Linked DNA regions of Homo sapiens: region 1 is linked to region 2. Evidence: promoter capture Hi-C in human tissues and cell types (Jung and others, 2019). All regions are on one chromosome and are shown on one strand. The core of a region is centred on a gene start or on the middle of the fragment in contact, and the rest is flanking DNA. Distances in the headings are between cores, read along the strand shown.

Region 1 (4,639 bases), core at 405-2,904, 530 kb after region 2:
GCCTACTTTTTAATGGGGCTATTTGCTTTTTTCTTGTTGATTTGTTTAAGTTCTTTTCTGGATATTAGTCCTTTGTCAGATGCATAATTTGCAAATGTTTTCTCCCATTCTGTAGTTTGTCCATCTGCTTCGTTGATAGCTTATTTTGCTGTGCTGAAGCTCTTTAATTAGGTCCCAACTGTCAGTTTTTCTTTTTGTTGCATTTGATTTTGGGGACTTAATCATAAATTATTTGCCTAGGCAATGTCCAGAAGAGTATTTTCTAGCTTTTCTTCTAGGATTTATATAGTTTCAGGCCTTACATTTAAGCCTTTAATCCATCTTGAGTTTGTTTTTGTATATGGTGAGAGGTAGACGTCTGGTTTCCTATTTGGATGCCTTTTATTTCTTTCTCTTGCCTGATTGCTCAGGCTAGGACTTGCCGCATACTGATTGCTGTGGCTCAGTACCATGCTGAATAGGAGTTGTTAAGAGTGGACACCCTGTTTTTTTCCAGTTCTTAGGCGGAATGCTTCCAACTTTTGCCCGTTCAGTATGATATTGACGGCTGGGTGCAGTGGTTCACACCTGTAATCCCAAGACTTTGGAAGGCCGAGGCAGGAGGATTGCATGAGCCTAGGAGTTCAAGACCAGCCTGGGCAGCATAGTGAAACCTTGTCTCTACTAAAAATAAAAAAAATTAGCCACACATAGTGGCATGCACCTGTAGTCCCAGCTTACTTGGGAGGCTGATGCAGGAGGATCACTTGAGCCTGGGTGATACAGGCTTCGGTGAGTTATGGTTGCACCACTGCACTCCAGCCTGGGCAATGGAATAAGACCTTGTCTCAAAAAAAAAAAAAAAAAAAAAAAAAAAAAAGATATTGTCATAGGTGGCTCTTATTATTTTGAAGTATGTTCCTTTGATGCTTAGTTTATTGAGGGTTTTTTATAATGAAGGGATGTTGGATTTTATTGAATGCTTTATGCTGATTGATTCTGAACATTGATAAAGAGGTATATATATATATCTTTAAATGATTTGTTCAGACTTTAATGGAAAGTACTAGTAAGAATAGCATGTAGAATTTCCAAATCACCCCATGTGGAGTGGGGAAATAGAGGAACAAGGAAAACTTCATCAATTGAGCAAAAATTGTTTTAAAAAATAAGAAAACACGGGCCGGGCACGGTGGCTCACGCCTGTAATCCCAGCACTTTGGGAGGCCGAGGCACGTGGATCACGAGGTCAGGAATCGAGACCATCCTGGCTAACATGGTGAAACCCCATCTCTACTAAAAATACAAAAAATTAGCTGGGCATGGTGGCGGGCGCCTGTAGTCCCAGCTACTTGGGAGGCAGGAGAATGGCGTGAACCCGGGAGGTGGAGGTTGTAGTGAGCCGAGATCACACCACTGCACTCCAGCCTGGGCAACAGAGCGAGACTCCATCTCAAAAAAAAAAAGAAAACACTGTGTAGAAAACCAAAGACAAGAATAAAACCACTCATATCAGTGATTACAAAAAATATGAATGGGATAAAGTCACCTATTAAAGGCAAAAGGTCTCATAAAGTGAGAACAACAACAGTATCTAGCTATGTGTTCTTTATAAATGAAACACTAAAATCAAAAAGGTACCAAAAATTGAAAATAGAGGAAAGATTACGTCTGCCCATATTGAGATCTGATGGAGCTGTGAGACTTTACATTTTTGTTTTTCATATGCTTTTGAAGTATTTATGAATGTCCTGGGATATAAGTCTAGGAATAGGAGCAAATTCTTGAAACCATTTTATTATATGTTTTCACAAAATAATGTAATATGGTACTTGGTCTAAAGTGGCCAGTGTTTATTCTTTCAAATATTTTGGATTTATATAATTTCTTTCTTCCAAAAAGTTATCTTCAAGTCTTCAGGTAGAATAAAATCATAGTAGAAAATAAGTCTTTCTGGCCAGCCATGGTGGCTCACGCTTGTAATCCCAACACTTCGGGAAGCCAAGGTGGGAGGGTTGCTTGAGGCCAGGAGTACAAGACCAGCCTGGCAACATGGTGAGACCCCATTCTTAACAACAACAACAACAAAATAGCCAGGCGTGGTGGTGTGTGCCTGTAGTCCCAGCTACTAGGGAGGCTGAGGAAGGAGAGTAGCTTGAGTCCAGGAGTGTGAGGCTGCAGTGAGCCATGATCACACCACTGCACTCCAGGCTGGGCAACAAAGTGAGACCCCCAACTCAAAACAAAAACAATAAAGAGGCCGGGCACGGTGGCTCACACCTGTAATCCCAGCACTCTGGGAGGCCAAGGCTGGAGGATCACTTGAGGTCGGGAGTTCAAGACCAGCCTGGCCAACATGGCGAAACCCCATCTCTACTAAAAACACAAAAATTAGCTGGGCATGGTGGTGCGGGCCTGTAGTCCCAGCTACTTGGGAGTCTGAGGCACAAGAAGTCCTTGAACTCGGGAGGCAGATGGTTGCAGTAAGTGAAGGTTGTAGTGAGGCAAGATCACGCCACTACACTCCAGCCTGGGCAACAGAACGAGACTCTGTCTCAAAAAAAGAAAGAAAACAGTCTTTTGTTGCTGCTGCTGCTGTTGTTGTTGTTACAAAAAAAAAAAAAATTCCAGCCAATTGGCCATTTATTTTAGAATAGTATTAAAAAACAAAGTTTCCATATCAATATAAAATTTGTATAGCTTCCTAGAATTTATTAAAATAGGAATACTAATAGATTCAAAAAGGAAAATTTGTATAAATTAGTGAAAATTACCACCCTGTCCTTAATGCCCTATTTTAAGATTAGTCATTAAATAAATATTTACTTGCTGGCCCTGAACTCTGTGCTGGGTACTGTGAGGCACAAAAGAAGTACAAGATACTGCCTTTGCCTACTAAGAATTTTATTCATACTTTGACAGCTTTCTGTGTTGAACCAGTAAATGTTTTCTTACACAGAGCTCTAAAACATGTTTAATCTGGTATAATTTACCACTAGGCACAGGAAAATAATTATAGCTAACATTCCTTTAGTTTGTCTCTGTATATCCACACTTAACAACAGCATTTTCACATGATAGACACCCTGACATATGAATGAATGAATGAATGAATATCAGGTGCTAGATTAAAAGCTCTAATTCAGTATCTAATTTAATCCTCTCAACAATTATCATTTAGCTAGTGTATTATCCACATTCTATCAGTGAAGAAACTGAGCTTCAGATCACTTTAATTACCTTGCCCAAAGTCATAATTGAAGTGGCAGAATGGGACTGGAATCCAGGTCTAACTCAAGTGCTATAGTGGTGTGAAGGGAAGACTGGTAAGGGTTGGTGTTCATGGAGAATTTGTTGCTGGGTGTATACTTCTTGTTTAGATTTCCTGTTTTGAAAACATTCAAACTTGATCAACCAAAAGAAATCATTTGCATAAATGTTATTCAGTTCCAGGAGCCAGGTTCCACGCCTGTTAGCATCTGTCCGTCAGTTCTGTAAGCAATCTTACAGTGGTGTGTGTTCATCCTAAGTAGTACAAAACAGTGCAGAGGAGGAAGGCGGACAGCTTAGGGGAAATCTGACCACCATGCGTGTTGGAAGTATTTCTCTTGTTCTCCTGCTTTTAGAAAGCCATCTCTGCTTGCTTTTTCAGGGGGTTATTAAGATCCTACTCTCTTGGATACTGTGCTCTATTAGGCAGGAGACACAGGCAGAAAGAAGCTCACTTGGCATGAATTAGGCAACAGAGAAAACTCTTGCTCAGTGGGAGTAACCTGTCACAACCTGGTTTTCTCTGGCCAGATAACCAGTCTTGTCGAGTAGTAATGCCATTACAACATTCCCATTCAGATCCTCATGACCCAGTAATTGTTTTGAGAATGAGTGCAAAGCTATCAGACACCAACTACTATAATTAGAAAAGGGAAAAATAGACACTTACCAGAGCTAATGTCTTTAGGCTGGAGCATTTACAGCTTTTTGTTTTTTGTTTTTTAAGTTATGGAGCCTCTTTCTCAGTTTTGCTTCCTAAAATACAAATTGCATGGTTTAGGGGTTCTTGCATTTCATTTTTGTTACTGCTGTGCACTCTCTTTCCTTTTTTCCCCCCTATTTTAATCGGAGTACAAATTGCTGTCAGCACATCGAGTTCATGTGCCAGCCACATTCAGAACAGGGTGTTCTGTGCTCTTCAAAACAAAATTGCTCTAGGGCAGTAAGAGAACAATAAGTCAGAGCTCCAGTTTAAGTGATGTTTTGCAGCTCGCTTGATGTGGTTACACTCCGATTGCGCAGCTAAGCTTGGGTAATTTGGTTTGGTTTGACTTTGTGGGGATTTGGAGGACCTCCCTCCCCCTTTAAGTTACATAGTCTTTAAGTCAAGAAAAAAATGTTGTCTCTTTTTAACTTGTTTATTTCTTTCTCTACCAAAAAAGCCCTAAGTAGAAGCATCCTGTATGTACTTTTATTCTCTTTGGGCATGTCATAGATGATTTACTTCCCGTAAATCATGCTGGTTGGGATTAGCAACAGACCTCCTGAGCCCTACAGGCTGCACTCCCAGTGAGTCACGATGGTTATTATTAAATATTTATTAAGTTAGTATTTGCACTAAAAGATGCCAGGTCAAAAAGCAACCACAGGGCTTCCACAGCCAGAGCTG
Region 2 (4,779 bases), core at 2,011-4,510:
ATTCTACAATTATCTGTTCCCGGGTGTCAGCTATAACCCATCGGTGATTATTCCAGCACAAATCCACATCCCTAGCCCAGACCTTCGTCTCCTGAGGTTCATATTTATTTGCAACTGTGATTAAACATTGGAATGTTCACAGTTTCTTTAAAAGTAAAGTGTCCAAAATGGAGTTCGTTATCTTTCCCCCAAGATCTGTTCTTCCTCTACCGTGTATTTCAAGCAGGAACCTGCCCATTCCTCCACCTCTGCCACCTCACTCAGCTACTGCACCCCAACAGATGGAACATTGTGTCGGCCCTGCCTCCCAAATGGGGCCTCAAGTCTGCTCTTGGCATCCCATCACCTCTGCTTTAGATCCCTACTTTAGATCACTAACACTGACCTCCAGGCTCTCCCCCTCTGCCTCCGAGCTGCTTCCTACTCCTTTCTTGCTGCTGCCAGTGTGCATCCCCCAAATCCCATCTGAACATATCACCTCCCGGCTCAAAGTCCCCAGGTCTTGAGGCTGCCTGTAGGGTCAGTCCAGATTCAGCTTGACCAAGCCAGCTGCTGGCCTCCACGTGCCACACTGACTTCTCCATCTTGTCCAAATAGTCCAGTCTCATTCAGACACTGCACAGGCAAAGCTATACATTTTGCAGCTAAATATTCTGGTTTTCTGCCATTCTGTCAAACACCCCCATCAGCCAGAGGCAGCCAAGGCTTCTTAATCCTTGCTTCATGCTAGAAAGAGCTCCAAGGTCCAGACTCACATCTGTGTCCCCAGGAAAGGTGAGTTGGTGCTAACCCTGTGAGGACTGGCAGATGTGTCTTCATGGTGTTAAAGCTGGGTAAAAAGCAAAGCAGCTGTGCAGACTGCCCCCTGCCAGGCAAGCACCCCACAAAGTCCTTCCTGCCTCTTCCTGCCTGCCTTTGGCTAAAAGCATCTTTCCAGAGAGAATCACACTTGACAGGCAAAGGCACAGGACTGCCAGGGAAGGAGGCTCTCCCCGCCACACCCGGAATAGAAACCCTAGACCCTCCCCCACCTTGCTCCCCAGCGGCATGTAAGGCCTGCAAATGCCCCAGAACCCAGTGCAGCCCAACTCACAAGTCATAGAAGTTGCGCAGGGAGGAGGCTGGGGTGAAGACATCCAGGAGCCCAATGACCTGGGGAAGAAGTCACCTGTGAGGGCTAGACAGACGCTACCTTCTCCTCCCACCTCCTCCTGGGCCCTGGCCATGCACAGGGCCATCCACCCTTTCCTAATACACCACCTCCAGCAGGAGGCATGTCTCCAACCTTCTTGGAAGCAGTAAAAAGGGCAGAGGCCTAGAGGAATCCCCTGGATTTGGAGGGAGTTTGCAATAAATCATGACAGAGAGTCAGGCTGGGGAGAAGGGAAGGTGGGGAGAATGATGTGTGCTCATTGCTGTCAAGTCTGGTGTCAGGGCAAGCAACACAAACCCACTCTCAACTCACCTAGGCAGCAGGAAAGCATAAGGGGAGGGTGGAAGGGAAAAAGGAGGGAACAGAGAAGGAGCTTTTCAGCCAGCAAACTCCCTGCCCCTGACCTTGGGTCTCCAGCCACATCCATCCTTGCCTGCCACAGGGCTGGTTCAGAGCCAAGGGCAAGATCACCCTGGCTGGAGGCCATAGGGGAGGGGTTTGCTGGAGAAGGATGGGCTTAAAATGTACATAACATTTTGAAATCATTCTTTGAAATGTCTGCCCTCCAATCTAGGTATCCTGCAGCAAAGCCTGGCTGCCAGGCCCTGAGCTGGGCCCCTGGTTTTCCCAGCTGCTTCTATCAGACAAGACAATCTGATGGTCATGTGCTCAGACCGGGAGCCTCGCTGCCGAGATTGAAACCCCAGCTCTGCTACTGACTAACCATCTAATCTGTGAGCCTTGCTGTGCTTTAGTTTCCTGTCTGTGACATGGGGGCAGTAGTACTCATATATCATGAGGACTAGACAAGTTAGTGTATGCAGAGCTCTTAGAACATAGGAAGTGCTCAATATGTGTATATTGCTATTGTTATCAGGGTCACGTGGACACAACGCTAACTAGGATTCTAGTCCCAGCTGGCCACAAGCTCTCAGACATGGAACCAATTACAAAGTTCCCCTGTGCCAATTTCCTCTGTAGGATAACACAGTCTGTACCTCACAAAGTGCATTCTGCCAAAAATACCCTTTGACCTCTTCCTGGAAAGTGGGCAGGGAAGGTCTCGGCACCCCCTCCTTTCAATAGTGAGGCGAGAGGCACCGTCAGGGGAGCAGGGAGGAGACTGTCCCGAGCTCTCCATACCGGGAGGCCCCGCCTGCGCCTGCCCCTGACTCCCCAGGGCAGCCCCCACCCCCTCCCCGGGGCAGCCACCACCTACGTTCTCATGCTGCATGTGCTTCAGCAGCAGCAGCTCCCGGTAGGCGCGCTTGGCGAAGATCTCGGACTGAAAGGGTCGGCTCAGCTTCTTGATGGCCACCTTCTCCCCTGACCGCTTGTCGATGGCCGAGCTGTCGGGCACAGGCCGGTCAGCAGGCGAGGCTCTCCTCCTGGGCCGTATCTCCCAGACCGCCCTGACCCCTCCCACTGGGCAGCTGGGCTGAGAGGGGACTAGGCCCACCACCTAGAATATGGGGGAGCCGCGGGACGCAGGGCAGGGAGTAGGAAGCCAGGCAGGAGCTGAGAGAGGGGCACAGCGCCAGGGGCAGCAACGTCTCATTGCGACGGGATCCACGGCAGGGCGGGAGTCTCACTCTGTCTGCAACTTGGCGAGCCACCTCCCCCTCTTGGGGCCTCGGTGTACTCGTCTGTAACAGTGAGGATCTGCCCGATGAACTCTGGGGTCTTGCAAGTGTACAGTCCTGGAGAACCAGGCCCAGTCCCAACTCAACCCCCAGAGACCTCACTCAGCCACTCGGTGAGAAAAGGGAGATGGCCGCTGGGTGGCCCCGGGGAGGGCGCTGGGCCTTGAGGTCCGCGGTCAAGGTGGCGCTGGCGAGGGGCCAGCCCAGGGCGGGCTGGGCGGAAAGGGGAGAGCCTGGCGCCCGCCCCCCGCCCCCCAGCGGCCCAGGGGTCTCACCACACGGAGCCATAGGCCCCGCTGCCGACGTGCGTCGGGGACACGTAGGTCTTGGGCAGCTCCCAGGCTGTCTTGTTGACGTCCTGCTTGTAGAAGCCCTTTTTCCGGATGAGGCTCATCCCGGGCACCCGATCTCGGCGGCCCCAGCGTGGCGGCTGCGTTCGCGGCCCAACGGGCTCCCAGCGCCCCGACCCCCGCTGCGCCCGCCCCGCGCCGCCCGCTCCTCCCCCGCGCGAGGGCGGGGGCCCCGGGCTGCTACGCTCCCACCTGCCGGCTCGCCCAGGTGCGCCGGGGCCGCCACGCCCGGGCCTGTCCAGCCCTGCGCTCCCGCGCTTCCGCCCGGCCCGACGGAGCCACTGCGGCAGGTGCGGCCCAGGCACGGGGTCGGGGCTGCCCAGCGGGACCCCGGTGCCTCCCAGCCGAGCGCGGGCCAGCGGCGGGGCTGGTGGGTCCAAGCAGGAGCGGGGAGGCAGTGCTTCCCAGTTCCCTCCAGCCCCGGTCTCCGTAGGAAGAGCTCCCTGTGACTGTGAACACACAGGAAAGCAGAACAAAACCCCACAACCTCTTCATTATGGAAAATGTCAAACATGCAGGAAAGAATTGAACAGAGTAAGCCAGCGCTTCTCACACTTCAGTGTGCTCAGGAATCCCCTGGGCATTTTATTTGATTAAAATACAGATCCTGACTCAGTAGGTTTGGGGTGGAGCCGAGATTCTGCATTTCTAGCCAGCTCCCAGGTCTGAGGCTTCTGAACCACATCTGATAGGAGGTTCTAATGAACCCCCGTGACCCCAATTCCCCAGCAACCACAACTCATAATCAATTTTATTTCATCCACATTCCTCTCCCACCATCGTTTTGAAGCAAAACCCAGGCGTCATATCATTTTATTCATAAATATTTTTGTATCTCTAAAACGTAAGGATTTTTAAAAGTACGTATCCACAATACTATATATATATATTTTTTGAGACTCTGTCGGAGTGCAGTTGCCATCTCGGCTCACTGCAACCTCCGCCTCCCGGGTTCAAGCAATTCTCTGCCTCCGCCTCCCGATTAGCTAGGATTGTAGGTGCCTGCCACCAAACCCGGCTAATTTTTGTATTTTTAATAGAGATGGGGTTTCACCATCTTGGCCAGGCTGGTCTTGAACTCCTGACCTCGTGAACCACCCGCCTCGGCCTCCGAAAGTGTTGGGATTACAGGCGTGAGCCACCGCGCCTGGCCCACAATACATTCTTAAACCTAAAATTAATAGCACTAATTCTATAATACCAAATATCCACGCAGGTTCAAATGTGCAGGATTTTTGTTTGTTTTTGACATGGAGTCTCACTCTATTGCCTAGGCTGGAGTGCAGTGGCGCCATCTCAGCTCACTGCAACCTCCGCCTCCCAGGTTCAAGCAATTCTCTTGCCTCAGCCTCCTGAGTAGCTGGGACTACAGGTGCACACCACCACTCCTAGCTAATTTTTGTATTTTTAGTAGAGACGGGGTTTCACCATGTTGGCCAGGCTGGTCTTCAACTCCTGACCTCAGGTGGTCCGCCCACCTCAGCCTCCCAAAGTGTTTGGATTACAGAAGTGAGCCACCGCACCTGGCCCAAATGTGCAGTTTTGAACACAGTTTCTGTGGACTTCCTAAGGCTCTATGAGGACAATGACTAATTGGGGCCCTTGCCACCTGTCTGGTGGCCTGTGCAGCCTG

Evidence for each region. Contacts are between HindIII fragments. The study calls those that stand out against the background at their distance.
Region 1: a fragment that was not itself captured here is called in contact with the fragment with the promoter of MAPK13 in region 2 in 1 of the 25 tissues and cell types used here (IMR-90 fibroblasts).

What each region holds. Positions count from the first base shown.
Region 1 is chr6:35,601,604-35,606,242 of GRCh38, reverse strand. All of the region lies in intron 5 of FKBP5 (FKBP prolyl isomerase 5), which reads left to right. Among named protein-coding and RNA genes, the nearest start is that of LINC03135, 60 kb to the right of the region's middle. RefSeq lists a silencer at 3,577-3,871 and an enhancer at 4,546-4,639. The HindIII fragment of the contact is 9,658 bases long and covers 1-4,639 here.
Region 2 is chr6:36,128,994-36,133,772 of GRCh38, reverse strand. It overlaps MAPK13 (mitogen-activated protein kinase 13), which reads right to left and starts at 3,260. Exons shown (of 12, transcript NM_002754.5): 1 at 3,072-3,260; 2 at 2,373-2,502; 3 at 1,094-1,152. The coding sequence starts at 3,190. RefSeq lists enhancers at 1,535-1,784, 2,495-2,614, 2,506-3,109 and silencers at 2,255-2,364, 3,005-3,074, 3,115-3,364. The HindIII fragment of the contact is 28,110 bases long and covers 1-4,779 here.